Linked DNA regions of Homo sapiens: region 2 is linked to region 1. The links are contacts of gene promoters, found by promoter capture Hi-C in human tissues and cell types (Jung and others, 2019). All regions are on one chromosome and are shown on one strand. The core of a region is centred on a gene start or on the middle of the fragment in contact, and the rest is flanking DNA. Distances in the headings are between cores, read along the strand shown.

Region 1 (4,811 bases), core at 2,312-4,811:
TAGTCCTCATTGTACCCAGGTACAGGCCCCTCATGACCTGCACAGGAATAACTAAGGATTTAAGGACATGAGGCTTCCCAGCCAACTGCAGGTGCACAACATAAATGTATCTGCAAACAGACTGAGAGTAAAGCTGGGGGCACAAACCTCAGCACTGCCAGGACACACACCCTTCTCGTGGATTCTGACTTTATCTGACCCGGCCCACTGTCCAGATCTTGTTGTGGGATTGGGACAAGGGAGGTCATAAAGCCTGTCCCCAGGGCACTCTGTGTGAGCACACGAGACCTCCCCACCCCCCCACCGTTAGGTCTCCACACATAGATCTGACCATTAGGCATTGTGAGGAGGACTCTAGCGCGGGCTCAGGGATCACACCAGAGAATCAGGTACAGAGAGGAAGACGGGGCTCGAGGAGCTGATGGATGACACAGAGCAGGGTTCCTGCAGTCCACAGGTCCAGCTCACCCTGGTGTAGGTGCCCCATCCCCCTGATCCAGGCATCCCTGACACAGCTCCCTCCCGGAGCCTCCTCCCAGGTGACACATCAGGGTCCCTCACTCAAGCTGTCCAGAGAGGGCAGCACCTTGGACAGCGCCCACCCCACTTCACTCTTCCTCCCTCACAGGGCTCAGGGCTCAGGGCTCAAGTCTCAGAACAAATGGCAGAGGCCAGTGAGCCCAGAGATGGTGACAGGGCAATGATCCAGGGGCAGCTGCCTGAAACGGGAGCAGGTGAAGCCACAGATGGGAGAAGATGGTTCAGGAAGAAAAATCCAGGAATGGGCAGGAGAGGAGAGGAGGACACAGGCTCTGTGGGGCTGCAGCCCAGGATGGGACTAAGTGTGAAGACATCTCAGCAGGTGAGGCCAGGTCCCATGAACAGAGAAGCAGCTCCCACCTCCCCTGATGCACGGACACACAGAGTGTGTGGTGCTGTGCCCCCAGAGTCGGGCTCTCCTGTTCTGGTCCCCAGGGAGTGAGAAGTGAGGTTGACTTGTCCCTGCTCCTCTCTGCTACCCCAACATTCACCTTCTCCTCATGCCCCTCTCTCTCAAATATGATTTGGATCTATGTCCCCGCCCAAATCTCATGTCAAATTGTAAACCCCAATGTTGGAGGTGGGGCCTTGTGAGAAGTGATTGGATAATGCGGGTGGATTTTCTGCTTTGATGCTGTTTCTGTGATAGAGATCTCACATGATCTGGTTGTTTAAAAGTGTGTAGCACCTCTCCCCTCTCTCTCTCTCTCTCTTACTCATGCTCTGCCATGTAAGACGTTCCTGTTTCCCCTTCACCGTCCAGAATGATTGTAAGTTTTCTGAGGCCTCCCCAGGAGCAGAAGCCACTATGCTTCCTGTACAACTGCAGAATGATGAGCGAATTAAACCTCTTTTCTTTATAAATTACCCAGTCTCAGGTATTTCTTTATAGCAATGCGAGGACAGACTAATACAATCTTCTACTCCCAGATCCCCGCACACGCTTAGCCCCAGACATCACTGCCCCTGGGAGCATGCACAGCGCAGCCTCCTGCCGACAAAAGCAAAGTCACAAAAGGTGACAAAAATCTGCATTTGGGGACATCTGATTGTGAAAGAGGGAGGACAGTACACTTGTAGCCACAGAGACTGGGGCTCACCGAGCTGAAACCTGGTAGCACTTTGGCATAACATGTGCATGACCCGTGTTCAATGTCTAGAGATCAGTGTTGAGTAAAACAGCCTGGTCTGGGGCCGCTGCTGTCCCCACTTCCCTCCTGTCCACCAGAGGGCGGCAGAGTTCCTCCCACCCTGGAGCCTCCCCAGGGGCTGCTGACCTCCCTCAGCCGGGCCCACAGCCCAGCAGGGTCCACCCTCACCCGGGTCACCTCGGCCCACGTCCTCCTCGCCCTCCGAGCTCCTCACACGGACTCTGTCAGCTCCTCCCTGCAGCCTATCGGCCGCCCACCTGAGGCTTGTCGGCCGCCCACTTGAGGCCTGTCGGCTGCCCTCTGCAGGCAGCTCCTGTCCCCTACACCCCCTCCTTCCCCGGGCTCAGCTGAAAGGGCGTCTCCCAGGGCAGCTCCCTGTGATCTCCAGGACAGCTCAGTCTCTCACAGGCTCCGACGCCCCCTATGCTGTCACCTCACAGCCCTGTCATTACCATTAACTCCTCAGTCCCATGAAGTTCACTGAGCGCCTGTCTCCCGGTTACAGGAAAACTCTGTGACAGGGACCACGTCTGTCCTGCTCTCTGTGGAATCCCAGGGCCCAGCCCAGTGCCTGACACGGAACAGATGCTCCATAAATACTGGTTAAATGTGTGGGAGATCTCTAAAAAGAAGCATATCACCTCCGTGTGGCCCCCAGCAGTCAGAGTCTGTTCCATGTGGACACAGGGGCACTGGCACCAGCATGGGAGGAGGCCAGCAAGTGCCCGCGGCTGCCCCAGGAATGAGGCCTCAACCCCCAGAGCTTCAGAAGGGAGGACAGAGGCCTGCAGGGAATAGATCCTCCGGCCTGACCCTGCAGCCTAATCCAGAGTTCAGGGTCAGCTCACACCACGTCGACCCTGGTCAGCATCCCTAGGGCAGTTCCAGACAAGGCCGGAGGTCTCCTCTTGCCCTCCAGGGGGTGACATTGCACACAGACATCACTCAGGAAACGGATTCCCCTGGACAGGAACCTGGCTTTGCTAAGGAAGTGGAGGTGGAGCCTGGTTTCCATCCCTTGCTCCAACAGACCCTTCTGATCTCTCCCACATACCTGCTCTGTTCCTTTCTGGGTCCTATGAGGACCCTGTTCTGCCAGGGGTCCCTGTGCAACTCCAGACTCCCTCCTGGTACCACCATGGGGAAGGTGGGGTGATCACAGGACAGTCAGCCTCGCAGAGGACAGAGACCACCCAGGACTGTCAGGGAGAACATGGACAGGCCCTGAGCCGCAGCTCAGCCAACAGACACGGAGAGGGAGGGTCCCCCTGGAGCCTTCCCCAAGGACAGCAGAGCCCAGAGTCACCCACCTCCCTCCACCACAGTCCTCTCTTTCCAGGACACACAAGACACCTCCCCCTCCACATGCAGGATCTGGGGACTCCTGAGACCTCTGGGCCTGGGTCTCCATCCCTGGGTCAGTGGCGGGGTTGGTGGTACTGGAGACAGAGGGCTGGTCCCTCCCCAGCCACCACCCAGTGAGCCTTTTTCTAGCCCCCAGAGCCACCTCTGTCACCTTCCTGTTGGGCATCATCCCACCTTCCCAGAGCCCTGGAGAGCATGGGGAGACCCGGGACCCTGCTGGGTTTCTCTGTCACAAAGGAAAATAATCCCCCTGGTGTGACAGACCCAAGGACAGAACACAGCAGAGGTCAGCACTGGGGAAGACAGGTTGTCCTCCCAGGGGATGGGGGTCCATCCACCTTGCCGAAAAGATTTGTCTGAGGAACTGAAAATAGAAGGGAAAAAAGAGGAGGGACAAAAGAGGCAGAAATGAGAGGGGAGGGGACAGAGGACACCTGAATAAAGACCACACCCATGACCCACGTGATGCTGAGAAGTACTCCTGCCCTAGGAAGAGACTCAGGGCAGAGGGAGGAAGGACAGCAGACCAGACAGTCACAGCAGCCTTGACAAAACGTTCCTGGAACTCAAGCTCTTCTCCACAGAGGAGGACAGAGCAGACAGCAGAGACCATGGAGTCTCCCTCGGCCCCTCCCCACAGATGGTGCATCCCCTGGCAGAGGCTCCTGCTCACAGGTGAAGGGAGGACAACCTGGGAGAGGGTGGGAGGAGGGAGCTGGGGTCTCCTGGGTAGGACAGGGCTGTGAGACGGACAGAGGGCTCCTGTTGGAGCCTGAATAGGGAAGAGGACATCAGAGAGGGACAGGAGTCACACCAGAAAAATCAAATTGAACTGGAATTGGAAAGGGGCAGGAAAACCTCAAGAGTTCTATTTTCCTAGTTAATTGTCACTGGCCACTACGTTTTTAAAAATCATAATAACTGCATCAGATGACACTTTAAATAAAAACATAACCAGGGCATGAAACACTGTCCTCATCCGCCTACCGCGGACATTGGAAAATAAGCCCCAGGCTGTGGAGGGCCCTGGGAACCCTCATGAACTCATCCACAGGAATCTGCAGCCTGTCCCAGGCACTGGGGTGCAACCAAGATCACACAAATCCCTGCCCTCATGAAGCTCATGCTCTCATGGGGAGGAAGACAGACATACAAAGAGATCTAGAATGTGAGGTCAGGTGTTGACAAGAGCCCTGGAGGGAATAGAGCAGGGAAAGGTCAGAAAAGGAAGACCCAGGGTCTCTAGAGGAGGTGTCAGGGAAGGGATCTCCCAAGAATGCCCTGATGTGAGCAGGACCTGAAGGCAATGGGGAGGGAGCCGTGAAGACCCCTGGAAAAGCAGATTCCACACAGGGAAATGCCAAGGTCAGAGGTGCTAAGGAAATAGGAGACACACTGCTGACCTTGACCTAGTAGGACACACACACACACACACACACACACACACTCACTCACTCCAGGGCTGGGGGATGAAGAGACCTGCTCAGGACCCAGGACCCCATTTTTCCACCCTAATGCATAGGTCCCAATATTGACCGATGCTCTCTGCTCTCTCCTAGCCTCACTTCTAACCTTCTGGAACCCGCCCACCACTGCCAAGCTCACTATTGAATCCACGCCGTTCAATGTCGCAGAGGGGAAGGAGGTGCTTCTACTTGTCCACAATCTGCCCCAGCATCTTTTTGGCTACAGCTGGTACAAAGGTGAAAGAGTGGATGGCAACCGTCAAATTATAGGATATGTAATAGGAACTCA
Region 2 (4,811 bases), core at 993-3,492, 96 kb after region 1:
GCAAAGATGGAGCAGCACACCTCACCTGGGCAGAAGCCCAGGGACAGAAACCCTGCAGAACCAGCGCTGGGGTCAGAAATCTGAACTGTAACTGACAAATTGCTGGAGGCTCAGCATGGACATGCCCCAGAGTTAAACTAAACACTCCAGGGGAGGGATCAATCTTGGGGCTGGGACAAGGAGGGACTCTTTTGTGAGTCTTAACTCCTAGAGCTACCAGATTCTCATAGTGAATAGGCAACAAAGATCCCCTCCTCCTTCCTGAAGCGGGAGGGGGAAAGGAATTATTTGGAAAGATCTCCGTGAATTCTATTCTTCTTAGCAACAGCTGCCTTTAAGAGAAACTTTTACCAGAGCCTGACCTGCTGGGGTTTTATGGGAGCCTAACTGGCCTGGCAGTGGGTAAATGTCCAACTCCAGCCCCCTGTAGCCATCATGTCCCACCTAAGGGGGCAAAAATACAGAGAGTCACTTATGAAGTTCACAGCCCAGGCTGCAGACCTCATCCAGGACCACAGAACCCTTCCCTCCCAACACTCACCACAGCGTCACTGAACACCTGCTCACCCAAGTTCCTTTTACCCAGAATATCATGTCTGGCTTTCAACAAAACTGCACAAGACAGACTAAGGCAAAAACAAAAAAAAATGCAATTTGAAACTCAGAACAACAATCAGAACCAGACTCAGATGTGGCAGGGATGTTGAAATTAGCAGAACGGGAATTTAAAACAACTCTGGTTAATACAGTAAAGGTTATGATGGAAAAAGTAGACCCCATGCAGGAACAGATGGGTGATGTAAGCAGAGAGATCGATATTCTAAGACAGAACCAAAAGAAATGCTAGAGATAAAAAAAGAAACCCTCCTGTAAGGTAAATGAAGAATGCCCTCAATGGGCTTACTGGTAGCCTGGACACAGCTGAGGAAAGAATCTCTAGCTTGAGGGTGTGTCAGTAGAAACTTCCAAAACTGAACAGCAAAGTTTTGTGTGTGTATGTGTGTGTGTGTGTGTGTGTGTGTGTGTGTGTTGTTTTGTTTGTTTTTTTTTTTTTTGAGACAGAGTCTCGCTCTGTACCCCAGGCTGGAGTGAAGTGATGCTATCTCAGCTCACTGCAAGCTCTGCCTCCTGGGTTCACGCCATTCTCCTGCCTCAGCCTCCCAAATAGCTGGGACCACAGGCGCCCGCCACCATGCCCGGCTAATTTTTTGTATTTTTAGTAGAGACGGAGTTTCACCGTGTTATCCAGGATGGTCTCGACCTCCCAACCTCATGATCTGCCCGCCTTGGCCTCCAAAAGTGCTGGGATTACAGGCATGAGCCACCATGCCCGGCCTGAAACAGCAAAGCTTTAAAAGAGTGGGAAAAGGCCGGGCGTGGTTGTTCATGCTTGTAATCCCTGCACTTTGGGAGGCTGAGGCGGGTGGATCACCTGAGGTCAGGAGTTCGAGACCAGCCTGGCCAACATGATGATACCCTGTCTCTACTAAAAATACAAAAAATTAGCCAGGCATGATGACAGATGCCTATAATCCCAGCTACTCAGGAGGCTGAGGCAAGAGAATTGCTTGAACCTGGGAGGTAGAGATTGTAGTGAGCCAAGATAGCGCGATTTCACTCCAGCCTGGGCAACAAGAGCAAAACTCTGCCTCAAAAAAAAAAAAAGAGTGGGTAAAAAAAGTGGAAAAGCAGATTCAACTTCACATTCAAGATTTTGTATTGACAATGGCATATTTTATATTTTCTAAAAGCTGTAACATACATGTAATGGGAATACTGGTGGTTCCTGGGACCAGGTGGAGCTGGCCAGCCCTGTGCTGTCTGATGGGCCCACTGCTTGTTCCACACACATGTGTCCCTCATGATGATGCCATTATCATAAGATGGGGTCTTCGGGTGGGGAGATGCACCAGCCACCGGCATCTCACTTAGACTCTGCCCAATTCGGGCTAATTTAATCAAATTCTAGTTGTGTTTCCTGAGGCGTAAAGAAAAGGAGGAAGGTGTTTCATATGCCTGTTTAGGCCCCTTCCTATTTTGCCTAACTCTGCACAGGAAATTGAGGTGAGGGCTCTTTTGACATTTACTGACATACACACATCACATCTCCTAATTTGGTATTTTTCTTTTCTGTGTATTATTGAGACATCTCAGACTTTCCCTCTGACCAGTTCTGTCTTCCTAACAGGACTCACAATTCTCTCTCTACCCAGAGAGTCACTGATTTCAAACCAAAGTCAGCATCTTTCTTTGAGCTTAACATGATTATGCTGGTCTTCAGCATTTAGCAGACCTAAACCTTATTATGTTATCAAGAGAAATGCTACAGCAACCAATTGACCTCAGACCTTTCGACCATTAATAATAATTTCCACTGATAGAAAAAAAATTAATTTCCCCCAAATTTCTTTTTTTTTTTTCACTATAGTGAGATCATAACTCCTTTGTCTAAACTCCTGACAAATTTTTAAGGGCAAAATGGACTATTACAGATGGAGAATCCCAAATCCAAAAATCCAAAATACAAAATGTGCCAATATCCAAAATTTTTTGACCACTGGCATGATGTTCAAAGGAAATGCTCACTGGAGCATTTTGAAATTTTAGATTTTCAGATTTGGGATGCTAAACCGATACTTGTAATACAAATATTCCAAAATAAAAAATAATTAGAAATCCAAAACACTTTTGCTCTTATGCATAAGAGATACTCAAACTCTATTAATTATAGACACCAAGCTGTACAGCAGATCTCTAGAACCTCCATATTTTGCATAATTGAAACTGCACACCCAAGGAACAACTCCCTGCCAGCCCTTGGAAATCACCACTCTGCTCTTTTATTCTTTTTTCTTCTTTTTTTTTTTTTTTTTTTTTTTTAGATAGAGTTTTACTCTTGTCACCCAGGCTGGAGTGCAATGGTGTGATCTTGGCTCACTGCAACCTCCGCCTCCCAGGTTCAAGCAATTCTCCCTAGCCTTCTTAAGTAGCTGGGATTACAGGCATGTGCCACCACACCTGGCTAATTTTTGTATTTTTAGTAGAGACGGGGTTTCACCATGTTGGCCAGGCTGGTCTGGAACTCCCGACCTCAGGTGATCCGCCCGCCTCAGCATCCCAAAAGGCTGGGATTACAGGCATGAGCCACCGCACCCGGTCTGCATTCTACTCTCTGATTCCATGAGTTTGACTACTCTAGGGACCTCGTATTCGTGGAACCGTACAGTAGTTGTCCTTGTACGACTGACTTCTTTCACTTAACATAATCTCCAATGGGAGAAAATATTTGCAAAGATTCTTCCCAAATGTCTCTCTCATATCCATCAAACACAGAGTCCATGAGGACCAGATTGCCAGCAGCTTCATGCTCCCTCTTTCCACCAGTCAGTTCTGCATTTGCAAACGTTCATATGTATTTCTTATTAAGTTCCACGGAGTCCTCACCTGCCCTCTGCAGGAGGAGAAAACACATTAAGGACTGAGGACAGAGAACATGGTTCTGCTCCAAAGCCACCAGCTCCTGCATGTCCCCGCCCTCTTTCTAAGTTGGGATTCTACTCTTCCTGTTGTTGTTGTTTGTTGTTGTTGTTGTTGTTGTTGTTTGTTGTTTGTTGTTGTTACGGAGTCTTGCTCTGTCACTCAGGCTGGAGTGCAGTCGTGTAATCTCGGCTCACTACAACCTCTGCCTCCCAGGTTCAAGTGATTCTCCTTCCTCAGCCTCCCGAGTAGCTGGAATTACAGGCATGCTCCACCACACCCAGCTAATTTTTGTATTTTTAGTAGAGACTGGGTTTTTCGCCATGTTGGTCAGGCTGGTCTCGAACTCCTGACCTCAGGTGATCTGCCCACCTCGGCCTCCCCAAGTGCTGGGATTACAGGTGTGAGCCACCGCACCCGGCCTTCTACTATACCTTTTACTGACTCACTGTCTCATGTCAGTCACCATGATATACCTGGAAAGAATAACCTCACCTTGTAATTCTGAGACCTCAGCACCAGCATGTTCCAGGTGAGGACCCCAAGGTCAGCCAGGCAGTCAGCCATCAGGGAAGGAACAGGAGAGGTGCCAGGGGATGTGACTCCTGGTCCTGTGTCTGTCCAACACCCAATGCTGCTGCTTAATTCACAGTTGAGAAAGTCTCTTCTTCTTTCACAGGCAGGCAGCCTCACAGTCTCTGAGCCCTCAGACGGTCATGCATCTGTCTGTGACACACACATCTGTCTTCGTCTTTTTTTGTTTGTGTGTTTGTTTGTTTGTTTGCTTGTTTGTTTTGAGAGACAGAGTCTCACTCTGTCGCCCAGGCTGGAGTGCAGTGGTGCGATCTCGGCTCACTGCAAGCTCTGCCTCCCGGGTTCACACCATTCTCCTGCCTCAGCCTCCCAAGTAGCTGGGACTACAGGCGCCTGCCACCATGCCTGGCTAATTTTTTGTATTTTTTAGTAGAGACGGGGTTTCACCGTGTTAGCCAGGATGGTCTCGATCTCGTGACCTCGTGATACGCCCGCCTCGGCCTCCCAAAGTGCTGGGATTACAGGCGTGAGCCACCGCACCCGGCCTTGTCTTGGTCTTTTAAGGAGTGGAGTTGGCCAAAGAATAGGAGATGTTGATTCTGATTAAAATATGCCTGTGGAGGAATCACAGGTGCCACACAGGGCAATCTTCTCTCTGTTTTCTGCACAGCGGAGCTGCCCAAGCCCTCCATCTCCAGCAACAACTCCAACCCCAAGGAGGACAAGGATGCTGTGGCCTTCACCTGTGAACCTGAGATTCACAGCACAACCTGCCTGTAGTGGGTAAATGGTCAGAGCCT

The links. Contacts are between HindIII fragments. The study calls those that stand out against the background at their distance.
Region 2: a fragment that was not itself captured here is called in contact with the fragment with the promoter of CEACAM5 in region 1 in 3 of the 25 tissues and cell types used here (heart left ventricle, stomach and thymus).

The regions. Positions count from the first base shown.
Region 1 is chr19:41,705,065-41,709,875 of GRCh38, forward strand. CEACAM5 (CEA cell adhesion molecule 5) reads left to right here and starts at 3,562. Exons shown (of 10, transcript NM_004363.6): 1 at 3,562-3,731; 2 at 4,616-4,811. The coding sequence starts at 3,668. RefSeq lists silencers at 1,683-1,802, 1,823-1,872, 1,903-1,952. The HindIII fragment of the contact is 20,290 bases long and covers 1-4,811 here.
Region 2 is chr19:41,802,430-41,807,240 of GRCh38, forward strand. All of the region lies in intron 2 of CEACAM3 (CEA cell adhesion molecule 3), which reads left to right. It also overlaps the pseudogene LOC100422623. Among named protein-coding and RNA genes, the nearest start is that of CEACAM3, 8.2 kb to the left of the region's middle. The HindIII fragment of the contact is 7,650 bases long and covers 1-4,811 here.